2 separate regions of the Homo sapiens genome follow, and region 2 is linked to region 1. The links are contacts of gene promoters, found by promoter capture Hi-C in blood cells and fetal thymus (Javierre and others, 2016). All regions are on one chromosome and are shown on one strand. Each heading gives the region's core, a stretch centred on a gene start or on the middle of the fragment in contact. The rest is flanking DNA. Distances are from core to core; before and after follow the strand shown.

Region 1 (5,192 bases), core at 1,293-3,792:
TTACAACACAGACAACACTGAGCAACAGCTCCTCCTGCGCCCAGGGCGCGGTGCTCTCGGAGGCATGACCTCAATCGTCCTCAATAACCCGAGGGGACCTGGAAGCCAAGCACAAAACCCCGGGTCACCATGGTTAGAGAAGTGACAATGATATGCCCAAGGTCGCGGCAACGAAGTGAACTGGAAGCTGGACCATGAGATCCCAAAGCCTGAGGTCTTCAGAGGACACGATGTGTTGTTTCCCCAAACCCAGGGAGGCGCAGAGGTACAGCCCCTCAAGCTCCAACTACAGGCCTGGTCCCCGCGGGGTCAGCGGGCTGGAAGGCCTCCAGGCCGGCCGCCCCGGGGCCCGCGGGGTGGGAAGCCCCATCTCTCCATCTGCCCTCCCTGCAGAGCAGCTGGCCGCTCTGCGGGAGCAGCTGTCAGGGTGCAGGAGCCTCTGTCCAGCCGGGAACCTGGAGTAGGAGGCCCCACCACGCCTCCTCGAGCAGAGAAAGGCGGCTTGCCGGCTGTTTCCCAACCTCCAGGCCGGCGACAGAAGGGACCCAGGCACAGACACCAGTTCTTTCTTTGCACAGGGGCTGAGGCAAGGAGGGGAGCAACTCCGGGCTTCCCGCGGGGAATCCCACAGTAGAGGGGGCTGCGGGTTGTTTTCCAGCGTGTGTGTGTTGGCCTGCAGCTGTTTCTGCCATTTTTAAATGGCTCCAGTCGGGCACCGGGCACCCTGTGTACCAGGGGAGCTCCCGAGACACCGACGACTTGGATCTCAACTTTGGAAAGCCTCCCCTTCTCACGGTTCTGAAAATTCTTTGTCCCACTGGAGCCAAACCCAGCCCACGGCCGGGCATCCGGCCATCGCAGCCAGCCCTTTCCATAGGAGGCCGGGGAGCACGTGGACTTTATTGATTTTCCTCTTGCCTTTTTTGTTGGGTTTGACTCAGAAAGGACAGCTAACTTGTGACACCGCCACACCGGAGGCTCGCCCCCAGTGGCTTTTAGAGACCGAGGCGCTACTCGAGAAACGACACCCCCAAACGTAAACATCCCCTGCCACAGGGCCTGCCCAGCTTCCAGGCTCGAAATAAAGGGTCGAGACGAGCCCGCGGGCGCTGACACTCAGAGCCAGCGTTGCGGCGGCTCCTCTCCCTCCGGGACCCCAGTGAAGGCGTGGGAAAAAAATAATAAAGTTGAAATCAGGCAGCGGGGAGTTTTCAACAACTCTGACCCAACCTGGCGATCTGCTTGCGCCTCGGGCCTGGCCCAGGGGCCGATTCCGAGCAGACCCCGACGAGGCCGCGGAAAGGTTCGATCCCCTTAATGTCGACCGGGCCACGCCGGGCGGACGCTAATGTGATCCCGAAAACCACGCGCGGCCGCCACCAAGTCCCCCTCTCCCCGGTGCAGAGAACAAAAACAACAGCTCCCTCCGCAAAACAAACACGAGCTCCCGGTGTGGAGAGGCAGCCGCGGCCCAGGACGAACGGCTTCTGGCCAAAAACATCGGCTGGCCCGAGCCCCCCGCCCGGGGCGCCGCGCAGAGCGGGGTGGGACGTGGGCGCCCCGCGCCCCTGGCCGCTGGCTCCCAGCGCTCGCCCCCATCTTTCCTGGTCGCCGAGAGCCCTCGCTCCAGGCAGCCCAAAGCGCTAAATTTAAACGGCTCGCGCTCTGCAAACTCCGCAGACTCGAGGGCGCCGGGCCCGGGAGGCGGGAGCGGGCGGCCGGGCGGGCCGGGGCTGGCGGAGGGCGGCGGGGCGCGGGCCGGGGTGCGCGGGGAGGAGACGGCGGCGGCGGCCCGCTCGGAGCCTGCACAATGGAGCTCGCGCTCTCCCCGCCGCCGCCGGCATCGCGGCCCCGGCGCGCGGGAAGCCGCTTTCATGTGACTTGCACAAAACGAAATGGCTTCTGGGGCCGGCCCCGAGCCCCCCTCCCGGGAGCCGAGCGCCGCGGCGGGGGCCGCCCCGCCGCTCCAACCGCCTGGCCCCGGCGCCCGCCGCCTCCGGGCCGCCGCGCCAGGTGGGCTACAGGCGCGAGCGCACCTGGGCAGCGGCCGCGGCCCCAGCCTGGCGCAGGTGACCCGGCTCGCGCGCCGCCCGCCCGTCCGCCCGCCCTCGCCAAGTCCCGGGGCCCGCGGCGGGGCTGGGCCGGGGCAGGCGGCCGGGGCGCTGCGCCCCGCGGCTCTCTGGAGCCGCGCTCGGGCTCGGGGCGGCCGGGGAGGCGGCTGGCGGCGGGCGCCTCCGCTTACCATTTGCGCACTTTCTCGATCGCCGCCATGACCCTCTTGATATCATCTTTGGCCCGGCTCCTCGTCTCGGCTCGAACCGACCTGCCCGACATGGTTCCGGCGGGGAGACGGAGGCTGGGGAGCGCGCCCGCCGGGTCCTGCTCGCGCTCCGCGGCGGCCACACTCGCGCCCGCCCGCCGCTCACTCACTCGCGCACAGACACTCGCACTCTCACACGCACACACTCACACACACACACACACACACACACACATACACACACACACAAAGCCCGGGGCCGCCGCGCGCCTGGCCCAGTGCGCAAGCGCCGGGCGGCAGCTGCACAGAGCAGGGGGAGCCGCGCCGCCGCCGCCGCCGGCAGTGCGGCCTCCGGGCGCCGCGGCCACCGGGCAGCGCCCCCGGGCCTCCTGCGCCCCCAGAGGGGACGCCCCGGACGCCCTCCTGGGGAGGTGGCGAAGGGCGCACGGCGACCCCCGGCTCTGGGCGCGCGGTGGGGGCGGGCGTGCGGACACGCGCGCTGACCCTTCCTCGGAGGCTGCAGGTGCCGAGGGGTCCATGGGAGACAGCCGGTCTGCGGGGCGCGGGGGGGTCGCGTTCCCCGGGAGCCAGCCCAGCTGCCCCTGCCCAGCCCCCAGAGCGCGGCGGCGGGTGCAGTCGTGCAAGTTTCTTGCGGGTCTCTTGACTTCTCCGAGTTGAAGGCACCGGTTCGGGACGCGAGGTGCTCTTGGAAAGAGTTGGGCATCGCGCATCTCTGCTGGCCCGCGGCCCTGTTCAAATGCGAGCTAGGACGTCGCCTGCCCCAGGCTTTGTCCTTTTGGAAAACTAGGGTTGTAGGAAGGTGCCTGGTGCCAGGCAGACCACCAGAGACTCTCGACCTTGAGTACTAAAGAGTTTTCTGCTCAGCAAAAGCTCAATGATGATCAGCATCGTAACAGGGACTCTTCCTCCCGCCCCCAGAAGTTCTCTTGTCATAAACAAGGCGAGGGGGTCTTCGCTGAGCTTCACCAGAGGACCACGATTTCACCTTAAGCCATTCCTGACTTCAGTACCAGACTGAGACCAGGCGCTGCTACTGCCCAAATGACCCCTGGTCCCATCTACAAGGAGCACTTTTGAGGCCTCAGAACAGAGCCCCGGGGAGAAATCTGCGATGATCAGGGTAACCTGGGTGCCGCATCTTGCTGTTCAGCTGCAGCGGAACCGGCCGGACCAGAGCTAATGCGCGCCCAGAATGAAGAGGGAGACCGAGAGTGGCCCAAATGTCAGCGCCCCGGGCCTGGAGATGACAGCCCGACAGCAGCCATTTCACAGCTGGGGAAACTGAGTCCTGGGAAAGTTTAAGGTTGCAGCCTTAAGTTGTTACTCATTCTAGACGTTTCCCCTGAGGGTTTGGTCTTTGGGGAACACGCTACTGTGGAAATGGAGAGACCGCAGGCCTTTTCCTAGGCATTTGTTTTTACTATTCTGAAACGCAGTCTCCTGACGTGAAAAATGAAGAAAAGAACAAATACTGGCCGGGCGCGGTGGCTCATGCCTGTAATACCAGCACTTTGGGAGGCCGAGGCGGGTGGATCACTTGAGGTTAAGAGTTCGATACCAGCCTGGCCAACATGGTGGGTGAAACCCCGTCTCTACTAAAAATACAAAAATTAGCCGGGCGCGGTGGTGGGCTCCTGTAATCGCAGCTACTCGGGAGTCTGAGGCAGGAGACTCGCTTGAACCTGGGAGACGGAGGTTGCAGTGAGCAGAGATCCAGCCACTGCACTCCAGCCTGGGAGACAGAGTGAGACCCTGTCTCAGAAAAAAAAAAAAGGCCGGGCGCGGTGGTTCATGCCTGTAATCCCAGCACTTTGGAGGCCGAAGTGGGCAGATCACGAGGTCAGGAGTTCGAGACCAGCCTGGCCAACATGGAGAAACCCTGTCTCTACTAAAAATACAAAAATTAGCTGGGCGTGGTGGTGCAGGCCTGTAATCTGAGCTACGCGGGAGGCTGAGGCAGGAAAATGCTTGAACCTGGGAGGCAGAGGTGCAATGATCATGCCATTGCACTCCAGCCTGGGCAACAGAGCAAAACTGAATCTCAAAAAAACAAAACAAAACAAAATAAAACAAAACAAAACAAAAAAAGAAAGAGAGAAAGAAAAAGAAAAAAAAGAGAAAGAGAAAGAAGGACTTCAGAGAATCGTTCCGAGAATTTTCTGGGAAAATATGCAACAGCAGGTCATAAAACAGATCTCACAGAGATATGTGAGATCAATAGGTATGTGCTTTGGGCCACATGAAACTTTAAAAAAATGTATCTTAAAATTTAAAATAGGAAAATATTATGTCAGAATTCAAATAGTGACTGAGGAACAGATAAATGTGTCTATCCACACAATGGAATATTATTCAGCCATAAAAGGGAATGAATACATGCTACAACATGGGTGAACCTTGAAACACGCTAAGTGAAAGAAGCCAGTCACAAAAGGATAAATATGCGTAAGTCCATTTGCGGGAGATATCTACAACTAGGCGAATCCATAAAGACAGATATCAGATTGGTGGTTGCCAGAGGCAAGGGGGAGGGAGAGCAGGAGTGACTGCTAACGGATGTGGGGTTTCCTTTCGGAGTGATAGGAAAGTTCTGGAATGAGATAGTGGTGATGGTTGCAGAACAATGTGAATGTACTTAATGACGCTGAATTGTACACTTTTAAATGGTTACAATGGTCAATTTTATGTGTATTTGATCATAATAAAAAGAAATCTAGGCTGGGCGCGGTGGCTCACATCTGTGATTCCAGCACTTTGGGAGGCCGAGGTGGGTGGACTGCTAGAGGCCAGGAGTTTGAGACCAGCCTGGGCAACATGGTGAAACCCCATCTCTACAAAAAATTCAAAAAATAGCCAGGTGTGGTTGTGCGCATCTGCAGCCCCAGCTGCTCAGGAGGCTGAGGTGGGGAAG
Region 2 (5,192 bases), core at 1,337-3,836, 160 kb before region 1:
AATACAATAATTAGCCGGGCATGGTGGCAGGTGCCTGTAATCCCTGCTACTTGGGAGGCGGAGGTTGCAGTAAGTCGACATCGCGTCACTATGCTCCAGCCTGGGCAGTAAGCCTTCCTGGGCCACACCTGGGCGCCCCTCGTGGTTGAAGCCACGGGAGGGAAGGGTCTAGGACTCTGGAGACAGGGAGGCAGGATGGGGGGTAACCCCTTCTCCTGGACTCAAGGTCGCAGGCTTCAGGCTGAGCCACCTCTCACACTGCCTCAGGCTCTTATTAAATGCTCGGAGGCTGGGAAAAGTTGTGGAACTCTTTGCCCAAAACAAAAGCTTTTCACCCCAAAAGGAGCCTGCCCACTAGAAATCTGGGGTGTTGACGTCTTCAAGTCAGGGAGAGGCCCCAGCCCAGGTCAGCTGATGTGCTCAGGACGGGCCCCGCTCTCCTCCCCGCGCAGTGCCCGCGACTCGGGCCCCACCGTCACCCTCAAGCCCCACCCGCCCCCATGTCGGCGGCCCCCAGAATGCGCAGATCCCAGGCCCCAGGGACCAGCCCGCTCCGCTCGCCCGGGCCCGTGCCTCCCCGCAGCCGGTCCAGGCCCCCAGAGTTCCGGCCCCGGCGCCCGCACCCAGCTGCCGGCACCGCACGGGAACTCGCGCAGACACAGCTTCCGCAAGTGCTCGCGCACGGCCGCGCTCACGGTCCCGGTCCCGGGCCGCTGAGTCCCAGGCCCGGCCTCAGACTCGGACTCGGACTCGGACTCGTACGACGCCTCCATGGCCCGGGCCGCGTTGCCCGGCAACCGCTAGGACGCGTGCGCGGGGGCAGGGGCCTCTCCAGGCGCTCTCACCTGCCCCGAGGGAAAAGTCCCCCATCCGGATCAGACAGCCTGGCCCCAACCACCTGCGTTTTCTCTTCTGCCCTCATCTATAAAAATGGGATAACAGCTGGTGGTTCTAAGTGCGGCAGCTCCCGCAGGCAGTAAGCGCCATAGCTGACCTGTTTCTTAGCTCCTGTCAAGCACTCCCCACGGAAAGTCATCCTATACCCATCTGACAGATGGAGAAAGGAGAAGAGGGCCCAAGGTCAAACATCTCGACTCCAACCAGCCAGTGGGTTCCAGGGTGGTCTCTCTAACCCTGGAGTCAGGGATTTTATCACTGTCCACCTGTATAACTGTTTAATCACCCAGACCTCATTTTTTAAATTTTTTATTTATTTTATTTTATTGAGACAGAGTCTCGCTCTGTCGCCCAGGCTGGAGTCCAGTGGCGAGATCTCAGCTCACCGCAATCTCCGTGTCCCGGGTTCAAGCGATTCTCCTGCCTCAGCCTCCCGAGTAGCTGGGATTACAGGCGCGCATGACCACTTCCGGCTTTTTTTTTTTTTTTTTTTTTTTTGAGACCGAGTTTCACTCTTGTTGTCCAGGCTGGAGTGCAATGGCGCGATCTCGGCTCACTGCAACCTCCGCCTCCCAGATTCAACCGATTCTCCTGCCTCAGCCTCCCGAGTAGCTGGGATTACAACCGCCTGCCACAACGCCCCGCTAATGTGTATTTTTAGTAGAGACGGGGTTTCACCATGTTGGCCAGGCTGGTCTCGAACTCCTGACCTCAGGTGATCCACCCACCTCGGTCTCCCCAAGTGCTGGGATTACATACGTGAGCCACCGCACCCAGCCTAATTTTTTGTATTTTAGTAGAGATGGAGTTTCACCATGTTGCCCAGGTTGGTCTCAAACTCCTGGGCTCAGGCAATCCACTGGCCTCAGCCTCCCAAAGTGTTGGGATTACAGGCGTGAGCCACCACGCCCAGCCATGAAGCTTCTTTTATAAGGACATTGATCCCATTCCTGAGGAGCCCCCAAACTTAATCACTTCCCAAAGGGCCCCACGTTTTAATACTATCACACTGGGCATCAGGTTCTGACAAATGAATTTTGGAGGAACACATTAACATCTCTCATTCTTTTTGACTATACGATATCGGGACAACTTTACTGTTATTAGAAAAATTAGGCTGGGCGCGATGGCTCACCCCTGTAAACCCAGCACTTTGGGAGGCTGAGGTGGGTGGATCACCTGAGGTCAGGAGTTCGAGACCAGCCTGATCAACATGGTGAAACCCCGTCTCTACTAAAAATACAAAAATTAGCCAGGCGTGGTGACACATGCCTATAGTCCCAGCTACTTCGGAGGCTGAGGCAGGAGAATTGCTTGAACCCAGGAGGCGGAGGTTGCAGTGAGCCGAGATCACATCACTGCACTCCAGCCTGGGCAACAGAGTGAGACTGTCTCAAAAAAAAAAAAAAATTTATCCAAAACTGGGAGTTAAGGCAAAAAGATGACCATATGTCCTTTCTTTTCCTTTTTTTTTTTTTGAGACGGAGTCTCCCTCTGCCGTCCAGGCTGGAGTGCAGTGGTGCAATCTCGGCTCACTGCAAGCTCCGCCTGCCAGGTTCACGCCATTCTCCTGCCTCAGCCTCCTGAGTAGCTGGGACTACAGGCGCCCGCCACCAAGCCCGGCTAATTTTTTGTATTTTTAGTAGAGACGGGGTTTCACCGTGTTAGTCAGGATGGTCTCGATCTCCTGACCTCGTCATCCGCCCACCTCAGCCTCTCAAAGTGCTGGGATTACATGCATGAGCCACCGGGCCCAGCCAACCATATGTCCTTTCAAAGAAGAAAATATCCTTTTTTTTTTTTGAGGCAGGGTCTCCCTTTGTTATCCAGGCTACTGTGCAGTAGCGTGATCACAGGTCACTGAAGCCTGGACCTCCTGAACTGAAGCGGTCCTCCCACCTCAGCCTCCTGAGTGGCTGGGACTACAGGCATGCATCACCATGCCTGGCTAATTTTTTTGTATTTTTAGTACAGATGGGGTTTCGCCATGTTGCCCAGGCTGGTCTCGAATTCCTGACCTCAAGTGATCCACCCACCTCAGCCTCCCAAAGTGCTGAGATCACAGGCGTGAGCCACCATGCCTGGCTCTCAAAGAATAAAATAAATATCTATGAGTCCATAGTGATATAAATAAATCAAGGAGATGAATCACAGATATGGCTCCTGCAATTTTGATGGAGCAACAGATGGACAATGTGCAGTGAAGGAAGAGAAGACTGAGAGGGGAAATCAAGCATCCTGTTTGGAACAAGTTAAGGTCCAGATGCCAATGGGCGTCTACTGTGTCAAATCAGCCATTGGTTAGGAGTAAGAGCTCAGGAATGAGGTCAGGTCTGGGCAGACCACAGAGCCCAAGATACACAGAAGAGGCCCAGCCAGGAAGCCCTTCCACCCTTCATCCCAAGTCCCCCTGCAGCCAACACTGTCTCTTTTCTCTTCCTTCTCATCCAAGCTTCTTGACACAGTGGTCTATACTCACTTTTTCTTTTTTTCTTTTCTTTTGAGACGGAGTTTTGCTCTGTTGCCCAGGCTGGAGTGCAGTGGCGCAATCTTGGCTCACTGCAACCTCCGCCTCCTGGGTTCAAGCAATTCTCCTGCCTCAGCCTTCTGAGTAGCTGGGATTGCAGGCTCCCGCCACCATGCCCAGCTAGTTTTTGTATTTTTAGTAGAGACAGGGTTTCTCCATGCTGGTCAGGCTGGTCTCGAACTCCTGACCTCAAGTGATCCACCTGCCTTGGCCTCCCAAAGTGCTGGGATTACAGGTGTGAGCCACTCGCCCCTGGCCTATGCTCACTTTTTCCTCACTTCCCAAACCACCACAATATAACTGCCACACCAAAAATTTATTCAAACTCTCCCAGCAAAGTTTCTGTGACCTCATGTTGCCCAATCTAGTGAATCTCCTCAGCCTTTATCTTATTTGACCTCTTCATGGCTTTTGATGATGCCAACCATTTCCTCCTTGAAAAACTGCTTTTCATCTTATTCCATGACAACATGTATTTCTGGTGTTACTTTTCTTTCTCTCTCTCTTTTTTTTTTTTTTTTTTTGAGACGGAGTCTCACTCTGTCACGAGGCTGGAGTTCAGTGGCGCAATCTCGGCTCACCGCAACCTCCACCTTCTGGGTTCAAGCAATTCTCCTGCCTCAGCCTCCTGAGTAGCTGGGACTACAGACACGCGCCACCACACCCAGCTAATTTTTTTGTATTTTTAGTAGACAGGGTTTCACCATGTTGGCCAGGATGGTCTCGACCTTTTGACCTCGTGATCCGCCCGCCTCGGCCTCCCAAAGTGCTGGGATTACAGGTGTGAGCCACCGCACCCAGCCTTCTTTTTCTCTTGAGAGTGCCTTCTCCATGTTCTAGATTAAATCATCATCTTCTCCTTGTCCTGTTAATGGAAGCATGTCCCAGGGCTCCACACGACTTCCACACCTCACACTGCTCATCTCTTACTGGCTTACAGTTTTATCTGCCACAATACCTTGATGGCACCCACATTTACATCTGTAGTTCCTTCCTACACGCTTCAGATCCACACGTCCAACAGCCTACTGTGTGTCTTCAGCTGAGCATCCATAACACTTCCCATTCACTGTGTCAAAAGCTGAATCAGGCCGGGCACGTGGCTTGCACCTACAGTCGCAGCACTTTGGGAGGCCAAGGTGAGTGGATTGCTTGAGCCCCGGAGTTTAAGACCAGCCTAGGCAATAGAGGAGGATCTTATTTCTACAAAAAGTTAAAATTAAAAAGTTAGCCAGGCCTGGTGGTATGCCGTGTGCCTATAACCCCAGCTACTCAGGAGGCTGAGGCGGAAGGATCTCTTGAGCCTGGGAGTTTGAGGCTGCAGTGAGCTGTGATCACACCACTGCACTCTAGCCTAGGTGACAGACTGAGACCTTGCCTCTTAAAGAAAAGAAAACCAAACCAAACCAGCCAACCAACAAGCAAAGAGCCAGAATTCATCACCTCACCCGAGCCCCAAAGGCCTGAGGCCTGTGATCCTCTTCGTTTGTACCAATATCATTTATCCAGTTGCTCAAACCAGAAACCCAGAGGTTGTCCTCAACTCTTCCCTCTCCACCATCCCCATATCCAATCAAACACCACCCTGGCCAGGCACCATGGCTCACGCCTATAATCCCAGCACCTTGGGAGGCCGAGGCAGGTGGATCACAAGGTCAGGAGTTCAAGACCAGCCTGGCCAACATGAAAAAACCCCATCTCTACTAAAAATACAAGAAAAACAAACAAACAAAAAAACGCCAAGAGTGGTGGCTCACGCCTGTAATCC

The links. Contacts are between HindIII fragments. The CHiCAGO score rates a contact against its expected background, and 5 or more counts as called.
Region 2: a fragment that was not itself captured here is called in contact with the fragment with the promoter of BCL7A in region 1 in 2 of 17 cell types (M1 macrophages and M0 macrophages); the score reaches 5.6 in M1 macrophages.

Annotation. Positions count from the first base shown.
Region 1 is chr12:122,019,234-122,024,425 of GRCh38, reverse strand. It overlaps BCL7A (BAF chromatin remodeling complex subunit BCL7A), which reads right to left and starts at 2,542. Exons shown (of 6, transcript NM_001024808.3): 1 at 2,243-2,542. The coding sequence starts at 2,334. RefSeq lists silencers at 254-343, 1,824-1,983, 2,134-2,453, 2,584-2,663 and an enhancer at 1,174-1,989. The HindIII fragment of the contact is 6,381 bases long and covers 1-5,192 here.
Region 2 is chr12:122,178,726-122,183,917 of GRCh38, reverse strand. LRRC43 (leucine rich repeat containing 43) reads right to left here and starts at 795. Exons shown (of 12, transcript NM_001098519.2): 1 at 624-795. The coding sequence starts at 773. RefSeq lists a silencer at 668-767. The HindIII fragment of the contact is 1,531 bases long and covers 1,821-3,351 here.